Regions from separate parts of the Homo sapiens genome. Here region 1 is linked to region 2. The links are contacts of gene promoters, found by promoter capture Hi-C in blood cells and fetal thymus (Javierre and others, 2016). All regions are on one chromosome and are shown on one strand. The core of a region is centred on a gene start or on the middle of the fragment in contact, and the rest is flanking DNA. Distances in the headings are between cores, read along the strand shown.

Evidence for each region. Contacts are between HindIII fragments. The CHiCAGO score rates a contact against its expected background, and 5 or more counts as called.
Region 1: a fragment that was not itself captured here is called in contact with the fragment with the promoter of ATP2A1-AS1 in region 2 in 1 of 17 cell types (non-activated CD4 T cells); the score reaches 5.5 in non-activated CD4 T cells.

The regions. Positions count from the first base shown.
Region 1 is chr16:29,875,355-29,879,141 of GRCh38, forward strand. SEZ6L2 (seizure related 6 homolog like 2) reads right to left here. Exons shown (of 18, transcript NM_001243332.2): 10 at 2,933-3,071; 11 at 1,917-2,113; 12 at 1,402-1,596. Among named protein-coding and RNA genes, the nearest start is that of CDIPT, 14 kb to the left of the region's middle. RefSeq lists enhancers at 2,332-2,833, 2,834-3,333. The HindIII fragment of the contact is 2,189 bases long and covers 161-2,349 here.
Region 2 is chr16:28,878,425-28,882,459 of GRCh38, forward strand. ATP2A1-AS1 (ATP2A1 antisense RNA 1) reads right to left here and starts at 1,497. Exons shown (of 2, transcript NR_046290.1): 1 at 1,118-1,497; 2 at 533-680. ATP2A1 (ATPase sarcoplasmic/endoplasmic reticulum Ca2+ transporting 1) reads left to right here and starts at 64. Exons shown (of 23, transcript NM_004320.6): 1 at 64-365; 2 at 675-692; 3 at 1,077-1,159; 4 at 2,491-2,595; 5 at 4,027-4,035. The coding sequence starts at 248. RefSeq lists an enhancer at 450-1,223 and silencers at 1,294-1,343, 1,364-1,713. The HindIII fragment of the contact is 3,157 bases long and covers 1,360-4,035 here.

The sequences.
Region 1 (3,787 bases), core at 5-2,504, 1.0 Mb after region 2:
GTCCTGGCACACCTTCAGGCTCAATCTGCTGCCTTGGGCAGGTTCCCTCCTGAGCCCGAGGCAGCGGGGCCAGCCGAACTCTCAGCCCCATCCAGGCCTGATATCCTGTGAATCCTTCCAGGGGCGGGAAGCTTTGTCCAGCCCAAATCTGGCTACCTGAAGCTTCTCCCCTTGGTCCCACCATTGCTTCCAGATGCCACATGGAACTACAGCCCCATGTCCTTGGGGCTGGCTTCCTAAAATTTGGAGAAAGTAACCAGCTGCCATTCCTTTCTGCTCTTCAATTTTCTTTTTCTTTCTTTCTTTCTTTCTTTTTTTTTTTTTTGAGATGGAGTATCACTCCCGTGGCGCAGGATGGAATGCAATGGCACAATCTCAGCTTACTGCAACCTCCACCTCCCAGGTTCAAGCGATTCTCCTTCCTCAGCCTCCTGAGTATCTGGGATTACAGGCGTATGCCACCATGCCCAGATAGTTTTTTATTTTTAGTAGAGACGGGGTTTCACCATGTTGGCCAGGCTGGTCTCGAACTCCAGACCTCAGGTGATCCACCGCACCTGGCCCTTTCTGCTCTTCTAAAAGATACACACTCCCAGCTCCTTTAAATGTCACCTCCTCTGTGAAATCTCCTGCCCCAGCCCTGAGAAAATTAGCCCACTGCTCTCCCCACAGCACTTCGCCACGCCCAGGGCAGCATGCGCCCTGTGAACTTTCCATCTGCTCTTCACAACCTCAGTCCTACTTCGCCGATGGGGAAACCAAGCCTCAGAAATGCTAAGTGCCTCGCCCAAAGTCACCCAGTGATCACCACCCTGCGTATCCCTCCCAGACTGCGAGCTCCATAAGAGTATGGAGGGGCTTGAACCCCCTTCGCCTAACCCCAACCCAGCACGGGGCTTCAATGATGGCATTCAAATAAACCAAGTGCTCTGACAAGCCTTGGTCCTAGCAAAGTGGCTCCCTACAATTTCAACTGATAGGACTGCGGGATTGGGGCGGGGCGTAGGACAGGAAGGTGGAGCCAAGTGTGGACCCGGGGAGCCCAGTGGGAACCTGGTCGGAGCCCTTTTAGGGGCCAAACTCAGATGCCGCAGAGGAGGGGTCAGGAGGGGACGGGGCGGGGCCGTGAGACGAGGAAACAGGGACCGAGCCCAGGTCGGTGCAAGAAAGAGGGATGCAGCCCGGAGAAGATGAGAGGGAGACCCAGAGGGGACAGTTTCGGGGAACCGGGCGGAGGAGTGAGAACTAAAGGGCATGGGGGCAGGCCTTGAAGAAGATCCAGGAAGGACCCCGAGCGAAGGGATGGAACCCAGAAAGCACGGGGGTCGGGACAGGACAGGCCGACGACGGGGCCCACAGGGAAGGGGCGGGGCCGAGGGGACGCGGGCGGGGCCGGCTCACTCTTTTGGCAGGCGGGCGGCGCGGCGCTCCAAGACAGGTCCCACTGGCAAGTGAGAATGTCGGAGCCTAGCAGCTCGTAGCCAGGCTCGCACTGGTAGGTGAGCACCGTGCCCCGGATCAGGTCCCCGTGGGATGCCGTTCTCCAGCCCCACTCCGGAGGTGGCAGCTCGGGGCACGTGTCGTTCCTCGGGACCTCTGCAGGGGAGGGAAGGCGAGTTTGGAGGCTGCGTTTTAACTGCGGGCTCCCTTCCAGCCTCGGAGGCTTTGCTCTGTGCCCCCTCCCGGGATCTGTCTCTCTCTCTCTCTCTTAGAGACAGGGTTTCCTGTCGCCCAGGCTGGAGTACAGTGGTACAAGCATAGCTCACTGCAGCCTCAACCTCCTGGCTTCAAACGATCCTCCCGCCTCGGCCTCCCAAGGCCCCGGGATAACAGGCGTGAGCCACCACGACCGGCCACCTCCCGGGATCTCTGGCCTGCCCGACCCCTGCCCATCCCGGGACTCTATCCCTCAGTACCTTTGAAGTGCAATACGAAGCCCTGGCCCAGGCCTGGATTTGGGGGCCCGGGCGGTGCCTGAAACTGCAGTGTGAGGTCGGGCCCAGAGGAGAGAAGGCGGCGGCGCGGCTGAGGTCCCCGCAGCTGGGCCAAGACTCGGGCGCTGGGACCGTCCCCGTCGAACAGCGTCAGCATGTCCCCTTCCCGCACATTCAATCTGCAGGGGGTGAGACCAGGCAATGGGGCGGGGCTGCGACTGGCCCCTCCCATCCAGCTCTGCCCCATCCTCAACTCTGCTCATTGGTAGCCCCTCCTACTCTCCAGCCCCGCCCATATTCTCCTATCCCAGGTCTGGCGCCGCCTCCGTTTTGACCAACCATGGTTTCTCCTATGCTAGTGCCTCAGGGTTCCCCTATTCTATGGCTCCTCCCATGTCCTACTACCCAATCCCTAAGCTTGCACATTACTAACTCCGCCCACTGTCCACTCCCTCCTCCATCACCATGAGATCCACAGCCTAGCCCAACTCCAGCTCTGGCCAATCACAGACCAAATTCGCTAACGCCCTACACAACTCTAGGCCCCGCCTGAGTACCTGCTTTGAAGCCACGCCCACTTCAGCTTCTGTGCCATCTCATGACACTCTCATACCAATTCAGCTCACTGGATTCTCCCCAGACCTCCCCAACTTGCTGGTGTTAACGCAACAGTTTGGGTCTGTGTCCGTGGAAATAGCTCCAGGGGAAGCCTCAGAAACCTCCAAAGAGTGAGAGGCACCAGGCCAGAGCCCCTTGTTCACAGTGGCCCCTAAGGAAGGCTGCATTGCCCTATTTATTTGTCCGAGGTTGCCTGGCTAATATGTGATTTGAGCCCAGCTCTCTCACGTCTATCCTGTACCCTTAGTGCACCAGCCTATCCACCGAATTCTGGATAGATACGCAAGAGCCAGACAGGCTCAGAATGCAGGCTACTGCATTGGCATACCACACTTTGCTGAGCCTACACCCGTCGCACCCTCTGCAGGACCCAAACATACATCTCAACTTGGAGCAAGATGCGCTTCTCTTCCTGGACGTGCACGCCCCACACGCAGTCTTGGCCCGGGCTATAGCTCTGGGGCCAGTCGGGAGAGAGGACCACGCCAGCTGGTTCCGACAGCTCCCCTCCACACATGGCTAGGGAAAAAGGGGTGTCAGGTTCAGGACCCAGGTGGGCATGCTGTCTTCATTTCTCCACAGTCCTCACCACTCGTGATGCGTGCACCACATCACCTCGCTTGTTTCCTATTACCTATGATCCACCTGTTTCTTTTATTCTTTTATTTTATTTATTTATTTATTTTTAAATTTTTTTTGAGACGGAGTCTCTCTGTCGCCCAGGCTGGAGTGCAGTGGTGCGATCTTGGTTCACTGCAAGCTCTGCCTCCCTGGTTCACGCCATTCTCCTGCCTCAGCCTCCCGAGTAGCTGGGACTACAGGCGCCGCCACCACACCCTATTTTTTTTTCTTTTTTCTTTTTTTTTTTTTTTGTATTTTTAGTAGAGACGGGGTTTTACGGTGTTAGCCAGAATGGTCTCGATCTCCTGACCTCGTGATCTGCCCGCCTTGGCCTCCCAAAGTGCTGGGATTACAGGCGTGAGCCACCAGGTCCAGCCCCTATTTTTATTTTTTTAGACAGAGTCTCACTCTGTCGCCCAGGCTGGAGTGCAGTGGCGCAATCCCGGCTCACTGCAATCTCCACCTCGCAGACTCAAGCGATTCTCGTGCCTCAGCCTCCCAAGTAGCTGGGATTACAGGCACGCACTACCATGCCCGGCTAATTTTTGTATTTTTAGTAGAGACGGGGTTTCACTCTATTGACCAGGCTGGTCTCCAACTCCTGACCTCAGGTG
Region 2 (4,035 bases), core at 247-2,746:
GGTGGAGGGGGGAGCCCGGCCTCCCCCTGCTCCCTCATAAGGACCAGCTGGGGGCCGGGGGGTGGCCGGCTGCTCAAGTGGGACGGGGGTCAGAGCTTTGTGGAGGGAAGAAAAACCTGGAGGGGGCAGGAGAGTAAAAAGAAGAAACCCAGGCAGACAGGCAGTTGGACACACTGAGGAAGACCCCCCACGAGTGGGAACCCCCTGGAAGGAACACACCGGCCCCGGCCCCCAGGAAGGGAGCACAATGGAGGCCGCTCATGCTAAAACCACGGAGGAATGTTTGGCCTATTTTGGGGTGAGTGAGACCACGGGCCTCACCCCGGACCAAGTTAAGCGGAATCTGGAGAAATACGGCCTCAATGGTAAGTGTCCCTTGGAAGAGCGGCTGGTAATTAATGCCCTCCTGCACCCCCAAAACACACGCACACGCATGCACGCGTTTCTCCCTTCAGGGTTTCTTAAGGAAGAGCTGGGCCGTTGTCCAATGCTCGCAGGGGGAAGAAGATACTGAGAAAACAGAGTCCCGAGATCCAGAGTTTTGGGAGGTTTTAATGGGATGAACTTGATGAACCTCAAGGTGGCCTGATTCTCTTAGCCACAAAGTCTTGGGTGTGGGGGGCATGAGGCTGAACCCCAAATGAATCTGTCCTTTTCTTCTTTTTCCTGGGTAGAGCTCCCTGCTGAGGAAGGTAAGTTACTGGAATCCCTGAACTCTCATAAATGACCACCCCCCACCCCGCCCTGTCCCACTCCCTCCTCCCTGCCTCTTTAGATTCTTTGAGCAAATATCCCTTCCCAAAAGGCAAATCTCCCTCCCTAAAGGTTAGAGTCCTGTCCGGGGCAGAAGTCTCCCAGGCGCTTTCTCCTTGAAGCAGCCAACCCTTGAACTGCCCCCCACTTTGCCGAGTCTGTTTCTGGACTCCAGGCGAGCTTCTTAGCCCTTCTCTGGGCACCAAGCTGTCTGCCCACCACCCTAGAGCCTCCCCACTGCAGGCCGGAGTCCAGGGCGCTCCATCCCAGACCTTCACCCACTAGACCTTAACCCGGGGCCCTCCCCTTGCCTCCTCCCCCAGGGAAGACCCTGTGGGAGCTGGTGATAGAGCAGTTTGAAGACCTCCTGGTGCGGATTCTCCTCCTGGCCGCATGCATTTCCTTCGTAAGTGTGGGAGGGTCTCTGGGGGCTGGCTGGGGGTGTGAGGCTGGGATCGGGCGAATGCGGGGCTCGCAGTCACTGGATCCTCCCGTCCGAGTCCCGAGCATCCCATTGTACAGACGGGGCGGGCTGGCGCGCAGCAGCGGGTGTGATTCGCGTCCTCCTCTCTCCTCCCCTGCACCCCAGAGGCAGGTTTTATTTTAAGCTTTAAGGGTGTTCTCAGCCAAAACACCGAAGCTAAGCCACCCTCGCGGCTTCAAGAGCTTGGAGAGCTCGGGTTACCCACCCGAACTCCGGGCTCCGGGTCCCGCCGCGATGCCGGCTGCGGCGCGGGGGGCCACTGCCACTCCCGGCATGCGCCGGGCGGACGGCCGCTCCACCAATCCCCGCGCCCGTCGGCGCCCCTGCCCCGCCCTCCCCAGCCTCCTGACGCTGATTGGTCGAGGGGAGGACTCGCTCCTAGTGGCGGGAAAGCGCGGCGGTGTGATGATGACTCCAAGGAGCCCGGCGCCCGGTCAGGGAGGGCACTGGCATCCCTCATTACCCGCCCAGCCTGGCCTTAGCCCTTCCCCGCGCTCCCTAGGCACCCCCACCCCCGCAGGGCATCTCCAGGGCTCTGCCTCCTCTCCCGCCCTGGGGGCTACTCCCCATCCCGCGGTCCATCTGCATGTCGCGGGTTCTTCCGCAGCATGTGAGCCTCGCTGGGGACTCTGGAGGCAACGAAAGCCTCCCTGTGCCTTGGTCTCCGAACGCAGGCCCCGTCGCGTTAAGCACAAGCTGGCAGGGCCTCTCCTCTCCCTTCTCAGATTTGCTCCTTGACATTTGCCTGCTGCCTGGCGGTGGCAACAGCTGGGGCGGGGCGCGCGCAGGAGGCCCCGTAACCCTATCCCCGCTCCGGCTCCCTCGTGAAACCGGAGCTTCCCTGCCTTGGCCGAGGGGGAGGGCTGCGGGGGCCAGACCGCCTGCGAAGACCACAGGGTTTTTCCTCTCGGGTTTTGGCTCCCGTGGGATGGATGTGGCTGTGCGGGGGGTTGGCCTGAGCTTCGCTTCTAAGCCAGCAGCTTGGTCAGGGAAACCTGAAAGCATTCCCAGCTAATCCCCCAAGTGGTGCAAGTCTGTGCGCGCCCATCCCGCTGAGTAAGGCGGTGGCAGGACCTGCAGTGGATGGACAGACCCTCAGACGGATGTGGGGCCACAGCGCCCCGACGGTGCCCGGCCCTCCTGCTGGCTCCTGCACTCTCCTGCACAGTTCTCCCCTTTGCAGTGGTCCACTTCCTTTCTCCATCTGTTTTGGGGCCTCATTACCTGTCATTCTCCTTTCCCCTGCTCCCCAGGTGCTGGCCTGGTTTGAGGAAGGTGAAGAGACCATCACTGCCTTTGTTGAACCCTTTGTCATCCTCTTGATCCTCATTGCCAATGCCATCGTGGGGGTTTGGCAGGTTAGCGTTGACCCTTCCTTACCCCTTCATGTCCCAACAGTGAAGAAGAGGCCAACCCTCCCTCCAGTCTCCTCCTCCTCCATCACCTCCCCCATACTTGCCTCTTCCTCTGGTCCTATCCCCTGGTCTGGAATGGGATGGAGTGTGGGGAAGAGGTGGGAGACTGTGACCCACTGTCACTTCCTGGCTATGTGACCCTGAGCAAGTTCCTTCATCCCTCTGAGCCTCAGTTTCTTCATCCATAAAATGGGGCTAGCAATCCAGTGTGAAATCGACTAAGATGATGCATGTTCCTGGCACACAGTAGGAATTCAATAGACGCTAGCTTGATTTCCTTCTTCCACTGACCTGACCACCCCCTACATGTCCTGTCCTCTGCTTCCTGGTTTGTTTTGTTTTGTTTTGTTTTTAGGTCATTTCCAAAGTGAAAACCCAAATGCTACCTTGCTTTGGTTTTAAGAAATGTCAGGCTATAAGCCATTTTTTGGTGCTCACTGGTTTCTGAACACTGAGGATAGAAATAGCCACTTTCATACTTTGGGAGGCCGAGGCGGGTGGATCAGTTGAGGTCAGGAGTTCAAGAGTAGCCTGGCCAACATGGTAAAACCCCATCTCTACTAAAAATACAAAAAAATTAGCTGGGCATGGTGGCAGGTGCCTGTAATCCCAGCTACTCAGGAGGCTGAGGCAGGAGAATCACTTGAATGGGGAGGCGGAGGTTGCAGTGAGCCAAGATTGCACAATTGCACTCCAGCATGGGCAACAGAGTGAGACCCAGTCTCAAAAAAAAAAAAAAGAGAGAAATAGCACTTTCTCTTTGCCCCAGTGTTACAGGCGCAGCAGAGCCACCTGTGTCTGTGGTGCTGACAGGTCCAGGACAGCATCTGCAGGGCAGCCTCTGATTTTCTTTGATTTTTTATTTAGATTTTTCTTTTTGAGACAGGGTCTCGTTCTCTTGCCCAGGCTGGAGTGCAGTGGCGTAATCTCATCTCACTGCAATCTCTGCCTCCAGGTTCTGGTGATTCTCGTGCCTCAGCCTCCCAAGTAGCTGGGATTACAGGCGCGTGCTACTACGCCCGGCTTTTTTTTTTTTTTTTTTTTTTTTTTGTACTTTTCGTAGAGACGGACGGGGTTTCACCATGTTGTCCAGGCTGGTCTCGAACTCCTGACTTCAAGTGATCCGCCTGCCTCAGCCTCCCAGAGTGCTGGGATTACAGGCGTGAGTCACCATGCCCGGCCTGATTTTCTTTGATTCTTCTTTGTTCCCTCCCCAAAACCCTCTCACCTGTTTTCACCTGTAGGTGACAGTTTCCTCAACATACACACACCCCTGCCTGTGTGGGGTTTTGTTGCCTCCCCCGTGCCAGGAGCCACAACTCCATAACTCTGCCTCCTGTGTATAACCCTGCCTCCTCCACCCTGTCTCCTCAGGAGCGGAAC